Regions from separate parts of the Homo sapiens genome. Here regions 1, 2 and 4 are each linked to region 3. Evidence: promoter capture Hi-C in 16 types of primary human blood cells and fetal thymus (Javierre and others, 2016). All regions are on one chromosome and are shown on one strand. Each heading gives the region's core, a stretch centred on a gene start or on the middle of the fragment in contact. The rest is flanking DNA. Distances are from core to core; before and after follow the strand shown.

Region 1 (2,966 bases), core at 51-2,550, 3.2 Mb before region 3:
GCTTCCCAAAGCTCACATTCTGGGGGAATGTTCTCAGTTTTGAGTCACTTAAGTGAGGACAGAGTCTGAGCCCAGAGCTTCCACCCTAACCCCTGGGGTTCCCTGCCACATGGGAAGGAAGGTGAGTGCCATCTCAGGAAGACAGAGGGCACAGAGAGGGGTGGGGTCCTCATGGCCCACCAAGAAAGGGGAAAAAAAACCCATTCCTTCTGGCACCTGCAGGGGGCGCTGGGGAGGCGACAACAGAACAGGAAGACCCAGGTGTTAAAAACAAGCAGGTAAGGCTAACACCATGGCCAGACATGGGGACTTGTTGCTCAGCGCCCCGGCAGGCAGAAGCCCACTTGGCATGTCCCTGGTGATAGACTGGACACAGCAGAGCAGCCCTGGGAGAGAGGAGAGGCAATCCCCCACCGCCCACCACCCCACACCTCTCCAGCACATCCAGTTTCCTGCAACATCATGATTGGCTGAGTGGGGACCCAAGCTCTCCTGTGGGCAGAGAAAACCTTGGCCAGTGAACGAGGAGAGGCCATCTGGAGAGCCCACAGTGAAGTCACCCAGAGGGATGAAGGGAATGCTCCAGTAGTGGAGGAGCGGGCTACCCACTAGGGGTAGGCGTGAGGGTGAGGGACCATGATTGTGGCTCATGCCAGAGGGGCAGGGTGGCGAGTGCTCAGCTGGGCACCCAAAGCTCATCAGATGCACCACCCGCCAGAGCCAGCTGTGGGGCTCCCCCATGGCTGGCCACCCTGCTCCTTGCTGAACAGCCCCACCCCAGCAACTGGGCAAATCGGAGTGGAACCAGAACTGTCCAGGAGGAGTCAATTTATCCCCAAATAAATAAAAATTGGGAGAGAAAGACCTTTCATTGTCAAGTTTACATCCACTCCCACATTACCAGGAGAGTAGGGGCTGATGAGGGAAGTTAGAACAGTGACAGAGAAATAAAGAAGCTACAGGTGTTTGTGTGGGATCTGAGTGTGGGGGTCTGAGTTTTCAGCTGTTACACGGATCGGTGCAGTAGGATGTGGTAAGAAAAGCACAGAGGAGGGGCACTGAGGGAGGGCCTCCTGTAGAATGAGGAAGATGAAGAGTTGCCTCTTGCAGCGAGAGGGTTCCTTGCCTGCCAGCTGGCAAAGCCCTGGGGTACCCGGGGGCAAATGCTACTACTGGAGACTCAACACACAGATCTCTCGTCAACCACAGTATCGCCAATCATAGTTTAAAGATCCAGGCTTTTAATGTCAAGGCATCGGGTTTCTGCTAGAAGAGTTTCCAGAACTTTCATTTAGTGCAGTTTTATATTTGACCACTAACCAATTTTTAATCCAAAATCTTTTTATATATGCATTGTTCAGTTCACCTCCTTAGAATAAATAGCCCAATCATGATTATATTCATCTTCCTCCCACTGCTCCCTCCGCACCCCACACACTCAGGTCACATGTAGACTCTGTGGTATAAGATTTGGGAAGAATTTAGCCATAAGAAGGAAAGCAATAAGGATACATGCTACTACATGAATGAACTTTTGAAACATTATACTAAGTGAAAGAAGCCAGACACAAAAGGCCACATATTGTATGATTCCATTTATATGAAATGTCCAGAACAGGCAAATCCACAGAGACAGAAAGCAGATTCATGGTTGCCAGGGCTGTGAGGGGTGGGAGAAAATGAGGAGTGATGGCTAATGGGTACGGGGTTTCTTTCTGGGGTGACAAAACAGTTCTGAAATCGGTGGCGATGGCTGCACAGTGCTGTGAATGTACCAAAAACCACTGAATCATACACTAAAGAATACATTTTGTGGAATGCAAGTTACATTTCAATTTTTTTTAAGATGATTTAAATTCTGCTTTCTCAAGACACAGAGACCAGAACAGGTCATTTGAGTTTATGAGAAGACCAAGTAACGATGAAACTTATCAGAACAAGCACCAAACTCATTCAATTCTAAGTGCTGATGGCTTCTCTGAAAACTTGAGAGGGTGATAGTGTCCACCACGGAACTCACGGGAGATTTCCACCATTCAACCTTGAATTGCTATTCATAGAGTGTCTACTATGCATGTACAATGTGCTGCTACATGTCGGAGATGCAGCAGTGACTGAGACAGACAGGGGGCCCATGGAAAAGAGACACTTAGGAAAAACTTGCACAAATAATTGCCCAATTAACATTATGCTGTAAAGGAAAATTACAGTGATTTCAGGGTTTATAAAATGAACATAATATTTTTGGGGGAGCAGGAGGAACCTCCCTGAGGAGTTAGCATTGAAGCCAAACCTGGAAGGCTGGGGGAAGAAGCATCCAGGTAAAGTAGAAGGCAGAGGAGCTAAGCAAGGAGAGAGAGAGAGAGCACCAGAAGGGCAGAGAGCCAGCAGGGAGAACAGGTGCCTCCCTATGTCACCAGCCACAGAGATCTTTCCTGAACCCATCAAGCAGAGATTCAGGCTTCTAACGCCAGTACATCTGGCTTGTGCTGGAGATGGGTGCCTTCCAGAATATTCATGTCCTGAGATTTTAAAAAGTGTGTCTAATACAATTGTTTATTCATTCATTCAACAAATATTTATTGAGATCTGCAACACGCCAGGCACTGGGGATACACAAGCGAACACAGAGTGTCCCTGTCCTCCCGGGGCTCACATTCTAGAGGGGGAGACAGTCAACAGGTGAACAGACAGTCAACAGGTGGAAAGAAGGTAACCTCAGAGGTGATGGCCCCTGAGAAGTCTGGGGCTGGGTGGTCTTTACACAAGGTGCTGGGCAAGGCCTGTTTGAGACAAGCAGAGGAAGAAGCCCGCCAGGCCCAGGCTTGAGAAAAGGACCCGGGGGGAGGGAAGCTGCGGGGGGGGCGGGGGGAGGGGGAGGCTGGGAGAAGAAAGGCTGGGGGCAGTAGTGAGAAAGCAAGAGGAAAGAGCAAGCTGCAGAGTGGGTTCTGAGTGCTCGGCAGGGG
Region 2 (3,012 bases), core at 470-2,969, 3.1 Mb before region 3:
ACACTTGTACTGTTCTTTATTGACTCTCCAGCTTGAGACACTCTCGCTTGCCTTTCTCTTACGGATGAGGAGGCTTCGGGCCACTTACGTCCCTACCCTTCCCCACACAGGCCAATCCCCTCCCCTATCCTCCCAATAATGCTACACCATAATTTTTGATTAAATTAGTATTGTTTACATATTATGCTACAGTCACGTGTCACTTAATGACGAGGATATGATCTGGGAAATGTGTCATTAGTTGCTGTCATCATTGTCATGGAGCATACAATGCTAGATGGGATAGCCCACTGCACACCCAGGCCAGATGGTCTAGCCTATTGCTGCTAGGCTCACAAATCTGTACAGCATGTACCTGTACTGAATATCGTAGGAACTGTAACACAATGGCAAGAATTTGTGTGTCTAAACATAGAAAAGGTACAGTAAGAACACAATATTATCTGACAGGCCCACCGTGGTGTATGTGACCCCGACTAAAATGTGATGGAGCAGCACGTGACTCTATATAAACATTATGGCCAGCTGAGCCATGGTATGGCCTGATTGGATTTCCTTCCTTGTACAACTTCTGGGTTTCCCTGGGGATTAATAATTGCCTCCTTGTTTTGACTTGCTTGGTTTTTTCTGGGCTTTTCACCAAACTCCGACAGAGCTCTAATATTCCTCTCCAAACAGCCAAGCACTCCTACCAAGGGAATCCGTGAGCTTGGGCAGTTCCTCCGGGAGCCTCCTTTTCAAATCTGCGCTGATTGCTTCTGTCTGCAAAGCCCTCACCCTGGACCTTCCTTTCTCTGTTGTCTGAATCTCATGTCTTTTTTTCTTTCTTTCTTTCTCTTTCTTTCCTTCTTTCTTTCTTTCTCTTTCTTTCTTTCCTTCCTTCTTTCTTTTTCTTTCTTTCTCTCTCTCTCTTCCTTTCTTTCTCTTTCTTCCTTTCTTTCTTCCTTCCTTTCCTCTCTCTCTCTTTCTTTCTTCTTTTCTTTTAACTGCCTTCCTTTCTTTTCTTTTCTTTCTGACACAGAGTCTCACTCTGCCACCCAAGCTGGAGTGCAGTGGCACAATCACAGCTCATTGCAGTTTCAACCTCCCGGGCTCTAGTAACCCTCTCACCTCAGCCTCCTGAGTAGCTGGGAGCACAGGCATGCACCACCAAGCCCATATTTTTGAATTTTTTGTAGAGATAGGGTTTCCTCATGTTGCCCAGGCTGGTCTTGAACTCCTGGGCTCAAGCAATCTGGGAGGCTGGGCTCCTAAAGTGCTGGGATTACAGGCGTGAGCCACTGTGCCTGGGCTTCATGTCTTATTTCTTGGTTTAATTCCTAATTTTAGAGAAAGGATGTCTGGGAAATAATTTTTCTATTTTTTTTTAATTGGAAAATGTCTCACTCTGCCCTCCCCCTGGACTGCATTGGTACTAAAATAGTTTTCCTTCAGGATGCTGAGACATCGCTTCATGACCTTCTAGTTTTTGGACTTGCTGTTGAGAATGTCAACATCATTCTGATTCCTTTTCTCCGCACTCTACGCACCATGGTTTGAGGATTTTCTCAACCCTGGTGTTGTGAAGTTTTACAATAATGTGCCCAGTATGGTCTATTTTCCACTTCTCTTCTGGCCCTTTTTATGGAGAGACTTGTGTCCATGAGTCCCAGATAATTTTTTGATTTTATATCTTTATTACTTTCTTTCCTTTCATTTTATCCCATTAGATACGGGACAAAAAAATCAGGGCATTAAGTGAACGCTATCCTGGCCTCCGGAAACCCTCGTCCCCTCCAGCGTCACTAGGTGTATGCATTCGAAGTAGCACATTTGAGGATTATTTGGGGAATCTGGATAACGTTAGAGAAAGATCTCTAAGGTCAGATGCTTGGGGAGGGGTGTACCCCACAGCAATGGGAGTGTCTCCTAGCTCAGCCTGATGCCAACAAACAAGTGCCTCATGTAGCTCAGAGCAGATCTGGCTGCTAAATCACTGTCTCCCAAGATTCTGATGGACTTGGTCTGGGGTGGGACCTGAGCATCTGCATTTCACATGCTTTCCGGTGATTCTAAGGGTGGCTGGGGCTGAGAGCCCAAGGGCTGACCTGCTGCCCTTGCTCCGAGAGCCTGACCAGCTAGCTGCCTCTTGGGCTCTGATTTGCTCACAGGGGCTCTGTGAGTTCAGGGTGCTGAGATGGAGCTTCCTCATTGCAGAGTTCTGTGGCCTGGTGTTGGGGCTGAGCTGGGCGAGCTACTCTTGAGAGAAGGCTTGGCTCTTCAGTTCAGTTTTCAGACGCTCAGGAAGACTCTGGGCTCCGGGGCACCCACAGGACTCAGCCCTTTCTCGAGGAGAGCATCCCCTCCCGCCTCACCGTGTGGCCTGGGGTTCACGCCTCCTTTTCTTGTCACTTGACTATCTCCTCATCCTACAAGGAGGATGAAATGGTCCTATTTTCCGGTCCTGATCCAGAGGCTCAGAGAGGGAGTGCAGCTTTGCCTAAGGCCACCTTGCTGGTAAGGGTCAGGCCAGAGACACAGATTTTACATCCAGGGTTTTTCAACTTAACTCAGCTTCCTTCTTTATCATTCATTCATTCAACAAACATTTACTGAGTTCCCAGGCTCTATGCTAGGAATTTTATTTTTATTTTATTTATTTATTTTTGAGATGGAATCTCACTCTGTCGCCCAGGCTGTAGTGCAACGGCATGATCTCGGCTCACTGCAACCTCCCACTCCTGGGTTCAAGTGATTCTCCTGCCTCAGCATCCTGAGTAGCTGGGATTACAGGTGTGCACCACTGCGCCCGGCTAATTTTTTTGTATTTTTAGTAGAGATGGGATTTTACCATGTTGGCCAGGCTGGTCTCGAACTCCTCACCTCAAGTGATCTGCCCACCTCGGCCTCCCAAAGTGCTGGGATTACAGGCATGAGCCACTGTGCCCGGCCTGGAACTTTAAATTTAAAAACACATTCAGGCCTGGCAACGTGGCTCACACCTATAATTCCAGCACTTGGGTAGGCTGAGGT
Region 3 (2,844 bases), core at 83-2,582:
ACCACAAAAATCTTTATCCTGAATTTAACCAAAACTTTGAGTGTCAATTACATGTTGCGTTTTGAGGCTACTAAGATGAAGAAAACTCGGTCCCTGGTCTCAAAGAGGCACTCTTACGCTTCAATATTCAAAAATGGAAGAAATGCAGTCTCACTATTTAGGCCTCTACAATGCTGTATATTTGCAGGAAAAAAAAAATCCGTAATCTACTGGCAATGAGCTGCCAAATTATATCTCATTATCAGAAAGGGGGAGGGGAGAAAAAAACTTTTTAAAAACCCACCAAGAAAAGAAAAAGGCGCAGTGGCATTAGAAAGCATAAAGAGACTAGCTTCAAGCCTTACAACCAGGAAAAAAAAAGTATCACCAGAGATAGAGAAAGAAGGAAACAGAATGAAACCTGGTTACCCCATCAAAACAAAACAGGGAAAGCAATACATAAGTCGTTTTGGAGGAGGGCACCCTGTGAAGTGCCCCCTTCTCCGACCGCCTGTGAATGCTAGGGAGGCGGAGGTGGAGGCAGGCGGACTCAACGCTCAAAGCTGGGCTTTTAACTCGTGCTCCTACATTCAGACAAGGTCAGTGGAAAGGGGCTAACTCCGGCGCACAAGACAGGCATCTGGAAATGGGAGGAAGAGAGTGAGCAAACTGAGACAGACCAGGAACAGAAAAGCAACATCGAATGGGCCCGAGGGGCGCCGAGAGCGAGCCCGAACCCCAAGTGCTGATCCCGCGTGCAGCAGGGTCGTGGTTCCCCACCACCAGGCAATGTTTTGTTTTCGGGTTGTTTTGATTTTCTTTGTGGACGGGGCGGAGAAGCTGGAGTGGCCGGGCGAGTTAGAGGTTCCGCCAGCAATTCCGGAAGGGGAAGGCCCCCGGCCCGACGGCAGCTGACCCAGCCAGGAAGGGTCGGGGGACGCGGGAACCCAGCACACGGGGGGAAGTGCGGCGGCGAGCGAGCGAGGAAACAGGAAGGTCCCCAGTCCTGCCTGCCTCCTACCAGCGGGGAGGGTCGGGCTCGCGTGCCACCCTCTCCGCCTACCTCTTCCCCTTCCCGGACGCCCCCCAAGGCCCAGCCGGCGAGCGAAAGAAAACAGAATACAAATTACTTACAACGGCATCGTCTCCGGCGCCGGCACCGCCCAGTCACTTCCCCCCCGCAACCGCCGCCGCTGCCGCCCTGGGCATGATCCACTGAGGCGGGAGGGAGGGGGGGGCCTGCCTCAGCCCTGGGTCCAACCCCTCTCCCGCACCGCTCCCGCCGCTTTAAGCGCTTCTCCTCCTTCCCCTTCGTCCTAACATGGCGCCCGAGCGCTACCACAGCAACGTTCTAGAACTGCTGACGCCACCACGCACGCCGTGCGTGCGCCTGCGCACCAGCGCCGTCCGCCGCGAAGCCTCACGGGAAGCGGAGTTCCTAAGGCCGCCTGCGGCCCGGCAATTACCCCCTGGGTCCTCTCACACTTAGCAGTGGGTGTCAGATGGTGGAAGGGAACGCTCAGGGAGGCCCCGGGCGGTGAGTTGTCCCTCGGGCGGGGACGCCCTCGTGGGCAGTGCGGCGTGGACGGCGCAAGGAAGAACCCGGAGAGATCCCAAGCCACGAGGCACCGCTTCCGGCGCATTGTGAGGTCCCACCTTTCCCGCCGCCTGAGGTCGCGGCGGCTGCTCTTTCCCGGAGCAGCGTCCCTGGAGGCGCTGCCAGGGGGTGAGGCACCCACGCGTGCACCGTATGTACCCCCCAGCGCGGCGCTTAGAACGACTCGCATGAGTCGCTGCCTTGGGTTGGAACCGGTTACTCCGCCGCTTCGTACTGGACTGCAAAGTAACAAGTACTTCGCCGGGCAGCGGTGCCGACCCCGTGTGCTACGGCGAGAGGTGCTTAGCCTAGAGCCGACGAAAACATGTCCCCAGGACTCCCTTTCCCTCCCAGACTGCGTCCCACCAGATGGAGCTTTCCGTCTGTTTTAACCACCAGTGTATTCCTGATGCCTGACCCAGGCGCTGAAATATTTGTTGAACGAATAAATGTGTAGGTTAGGACTGACGACAGTCCGCGAATTCTGGAACACGGGCTGATTTTACTTTTGAACAAATGATGCACTGGAACTTCCTGACAGAGCTGACCTTTTATAGGAACATCAATGGCAGTCACCGCTGGCATTTTAGCAAAGGTTGTCTTGGTCATAATTTCCCCTTGACTGTGTTTCCAGCCCTTAATCTATATCGGGTGGGACCTGGAAGTCTACCTTCTCGCCACCCCTCGGCAAAAGTTTGAGAAAGTGTTTGAGGCAGAGCCTCCTCTCTCATATGCCCTCCATCTGCGAATTAGAACGAATTATAAGTTCTACGGTGTCACATAGGGGGTTAGCGGAGAGGAAGAGGGAAAGAATCAAATACAGGACGCTGCCTTAACCAAAGTTCTAAACTCTAAATGTAATAATGTGCATTTGTGAGTCCTCAGGAAGTTTCACAAAGGCTTTCCCTTTTTTCACAGAATGTCTAGTAGGACTGGTGACTCCGAATGGGAAAAACACAGGACCTAGACCTGCCCTGTCCATTAGTGTAGCCCCTTGGCCACTTAGGGCCACTGAGCACTTGAAATGAGGCTAGTTCGTTTAGGAGGCACTGGAAGTGCAAAATACGCACGGGTGTCAGTTCGACGAATGTGAAATACCTCACTGATCACTTTTTATATTGATTGCACGTTGAAATATTTTGGATATATTGCAGTAAAGAAAATGTAAGCCGGGCACGGTGTCTCACACCTGTGATCCAGCACTTTAGGAGGCTGAGGTGGGAGGATCGCTTGGGCAGGAGTTAGAGACCAGCCTGGGCAATATAGGG
Region 4 (3,144 bases), core at 3-2,502, 3.0 Mb before region 3:
TATTCTCTCTTTCCCAAATACTGACTTCCAGTTGGCAGCATGTCAGAAGCAGCACATTAACTGGAGTCAGCAGAGCTCTGGAGGTTGACACACTGATGGCAGGAAGAATGTGCCGCTCACAAAAGCCCAGCAGTCAGGACCCCTTGAGGTGGAGGAAACAGCCCACCCTTCCGGGGTCAGGCAGCGGCACGCAGCCAGAATCCACAATGACAGCACTAGGTCTCCAAGGCAGCCCAAGGGAAGTCCAATCTCATCCGTTTAAGAAGGCAGCGTGCACATCACAACTGAAAAAGAACCCTATTTTTCTGTTTGCATGCTGAGGCTTTTTCTTCCTGAAATGTACTTTCTTCTGGCTTGTACACCACTCAGATCTGAGTCTCCTCTGCCATCACTGGCCTCTTTCTCTGGATTTCCTCCATCTCAAATACAGGCTCAATTTAAGTTCCAGGGACTTCCTCTCTCTTCACCCTCTTCCTCAGAGTCCAAAGCCCCTCTCTAAGTGGACAACTACAAACCTACATTTCTAGCGTCCATCTTGCCACCAAAACCATGGCCCATCCCTAGACCCACCAATCAGCACCTCACACTCTACCTTTTGCCTCTGTATCCTATAACTGCTATTACTCTCACCTCAGGGACCCACCTCCTGCCTTTTTCCACAGCTGGTAATAGTTAGCTAAAGCCGTCTACATCAGGGCTGTCCAACAGCAATATAACTGAGAGCCACATATCTACAATTTTAAACTTTCCAGGAGCCATTTTATTTTTTGAGACAGGGTCTCGCTCTGTCACCCAGGCTGGAGTGTAGTAATGTAATCATGGCTCACTGCAGCTTCAACCAACCAGGCTCAAGTGATCTTGCTGCCTGAGTCTCCCAAGTAGCTGGGACCATAGGTGTGGCGCCACCACGCCGAGCTGATTTTTAAGTTTTGTGTAGTGATGGGGTCACCCTATGTGGCCCAGTCTGGCCTGGAACTCCTGGGCTCAAAGCATGCCTTGGCCTCCCAAAGTGCTGGGATTACAAGTGTGCCAGGAACCACTTTAACAAGAAAAAGGAGCACTCCAGCCTGCATTAACAGAGCAAGACTCTGGAAATAAAAGGAAAAAGGATAAAATTTATTTAACCCGATAGATCGAAAATTTTATTTCAACATGTAACCAATATAAAGCTTTACTAATGAGATGTCTTACGTTCTCCTTTCTTGGAAATCTCTGTGTATTTTGCATTGTCAGTGCTTCAGAATTTGACCCAGTCACATTTCGAGTGCTTGCAGCCCTCTGCAGCCAGTAGCCTTCGGCATGGCACAGTGCAGCTGAGTTCCTCTATAAAGCTTCCTCCGGATCTGCCCTTCCTGCCCCGCAGCCAGCATGCTGAGGCCACCATGTTTCCCATGAGTGCCAGCAAGATTCTCCCCATTCCTAACCACTTGCCCTATTTACTGCTGCCAGGGGACTCCTTCTCAAATGAATTTAGACTCTGCCATTCCCCTGCTAAATCTCCAATGGCTTCCCTTGCCTCTGCCAAACTCACAGTCCTCCAGGTAAACTCTGTGATCTGGTCCTAACCCACATTTTAGATCCTATCAGAAGCTATTGCCTTTCAATTCATCACATTCCAGAAAGACTCCTCTCCATTTCCCCTGATTCTCAATTCCTTTGCTCACTTGCGTACTTCCAACTTATTGCTCCATCCTCCCCCTCTGCTCTCGCTGCTCAAATGCAACTCTTCCTTCAAGGTCATATATAGTTTGTTTCCTGCCTCTGACAGACCTGCACGTCAACTCAATTGCATTTCATGTGGCATGGAGTGTAGCCCGTTCTTGTGTCTAACATTTAATGTCGGTCAATTTGAAGCTAATTAAAAAATTCACCTGTAGGCTGGGCACGGTGGCTCATGCCTGTAATCGCAGCACTTTGGGAGGCTGGGGCGAGCAGATCACCTGAGGTCGGGAGTTTGACACCTGCCTGACCAACATGGAGAAACCCTGTCTCTACTAAAAATACAAAATTAGCCAGGCCTGGTGGTGCATGCCTGTAATCCCAGCTACTCGGGAGGCTGAGGCAGGAGAATTGCTTGAACCCAGGAGGCGGAGGTTGTGGTGAGTTAAGATTGCACCGCTGCACTCCAGCCTGGGCAACAAGAGTGAAACTCTGTCTCAAAAAAAAAAAAAAAATTCACCTGTACTGAACTCATCATTCCCTCAAATATACTGGAAAAAAAAAAAAAGTAGCTCTATCATAACTGGAAGATTTCACAGCAGTTTAATGAATGGAACTAAGAACCGAGAACATGGTTCTAAGAACCAGGAACTACTGGAACTAAGAACCAAGTAACAAAGAAAGACAAATGAGTCAATAGGGTCTGTGCCTTCAAAGAGTTCAGTATGATAGGTGGACTGACCCTGTGACAAAACATTTCTAACTTTCTGTTTTGTAATTGTTCCAATTTTGCTCACTCCTTCTGTTTATTTCCAATATTGACATGAACTAACTTTGGGTTCTAGACATGTGACAGCACCTCAACCCAAGTGTGTTTCAAAGAGGCCTTGCCTGCAAGGGCAGCTGGGCTGGGCCGGGCTGGTGCTGTCCGGGCAGCACACCACCCCCTACTGCCCCCCCGCATCTGCTGTGGCTTGGTGCTTGGGAGAGGACTCCTGCTGCTGTGATGGGGGTAAATAGTCTCTAAAAATAAAATTGCAGCAACAGTTCTCCTACAGCCATAATTATACTTTTATATATGTTACTGAGTACATTTTTATTGCCAGTAATGTTTTCTGTACTGATAGCTTCGTAAGAGCACAATTTTAGAATCTATGATCAGGTGATGAACAGAAAGACAATGCTGATGGAAAAGTTTTGTATGAGCTCTAAAGTTAAGATTTAAGGCCAATTTAGATCTGAAAAGAAACAATGTTGGCTAAGAATTTAAAGTTTTGCATATAAACACATAAAACTAAAAAAACATCAGAACAGGAAATTACCTGCTGCTTTGTTCTCTTCTTTGGGAGAAACAACCTGTTACAAAAGAAAATACACAATTGTTAACTGGGATCCTGAGTATGATGAGAAAAAAATGGATTATCCAGGTACCACCAGAATCAGCGACGGCAGTCACTGTGAACAGCCTCGGACAAAAATTATTTC

Evidence for each region. Contacts are between HindIII fragments. The CHiCAGO score rates a contact against its expected background, and 5 or more counts as called.
Region 1: a contact is called between a fragment that was not itself captured here and the fragment with the promoter of PAPOLA in region 3, in 3 of 17 cell types (non-activated CD4 T cells, fetal thymus and naive CD8 T cells). The highest score is 7.4, in non-activated CD4 T cells.
Region 2: a contact is called between a fragment that was not itself captured here and the fragment with the promoter of PAPOLA in region 3, in 1 of 17 cell types (non-activated CD4 T cells). The highest score is 5.6, in non-activated CD4 T cells.
Region 4: a fragment that was not itself captured here is called in contact with the fragment with the promoter of PAPOLA in region 3 in 5 of 17 cell types (total CD4 T cells, naive CD8 T cells, non-activated CD4 T cells and 2 more); the score reaches 13.0 in total CD4 T cells.

Annotation. Positions count from the first base shown.
Region 1 is chr14:99,685,217-99,688,182 of GRCh38, reverse strand. All of the region lies in intron 1 of CYP46A1 (cytochrome P450 family 46 subfamily A member 1), which reads right to left. Among named protein-coding and RNA genes, the nearest start is that of CYP46A1, 2.4 kb to the right of the region's middle. The HindIII fragment of the contact is 3,529 bases long and covers 1-2,966 here.
Region 2 is chr14:99,613,546-99,616,557 of GRCh38, reverse strand. It overlaps a transcript of HHIPL1 not described here. Among named protein-coding and RNA genes, the nearest start is that of CCDC85C, 11 kb to the right of the region's middle. The HindIII fragment of the contact is 4,207 bases long and covers 1-3,012 here.
Region 3 is chr14:96,500,870-96,503,713 of GRCh38, reverse strand. It overlaps PAPOLA (poly(A) polymerase alpha), which reads right to left and starts at 1,332. Exons shown (of 22, transcript NM_032632.5): 1 at 1,114-1,332. The coding sequence starts at 1,121. PAPOLA-DT (PAPOLA divergent transcript) reads left to right here and starts at 1,388. Exons shown (of 1, transcript NR_122121.1): 1 at 1,388-2,066. RefSeq lists silencers at 1,019-1,138, 1,577-1,920 and enhancers at 840-1,435, 1,259-1,518, 1,436-2,030, 2,031-2,627. The HindIII fragment of the contact is 10,690 bases long and covers 1-2,844 here.
Region 4 is chr14:99,503,482-99,506,625 of GRCh38, reverse strand. It overlaps CCNK (cyclin K), which reads right to left. Exons shown (of 11, transcript NM_001099402.2): 9 at 2,982-3,015. CCDC85C (coiled-coil domain containing 85C) reads left to right here. Exons shown (of 6, transcript NM_001144995.2): 6 at 1-3,144. Among named protein-coding and RNA genes, the nearest start is that of CCNK, 24 kb to the right of the region's middle. RefSeq lists an enhancer at 3,018-3,144. The HindIII fragment of the contact is 162 bases long and covers 1,172-1,333 here.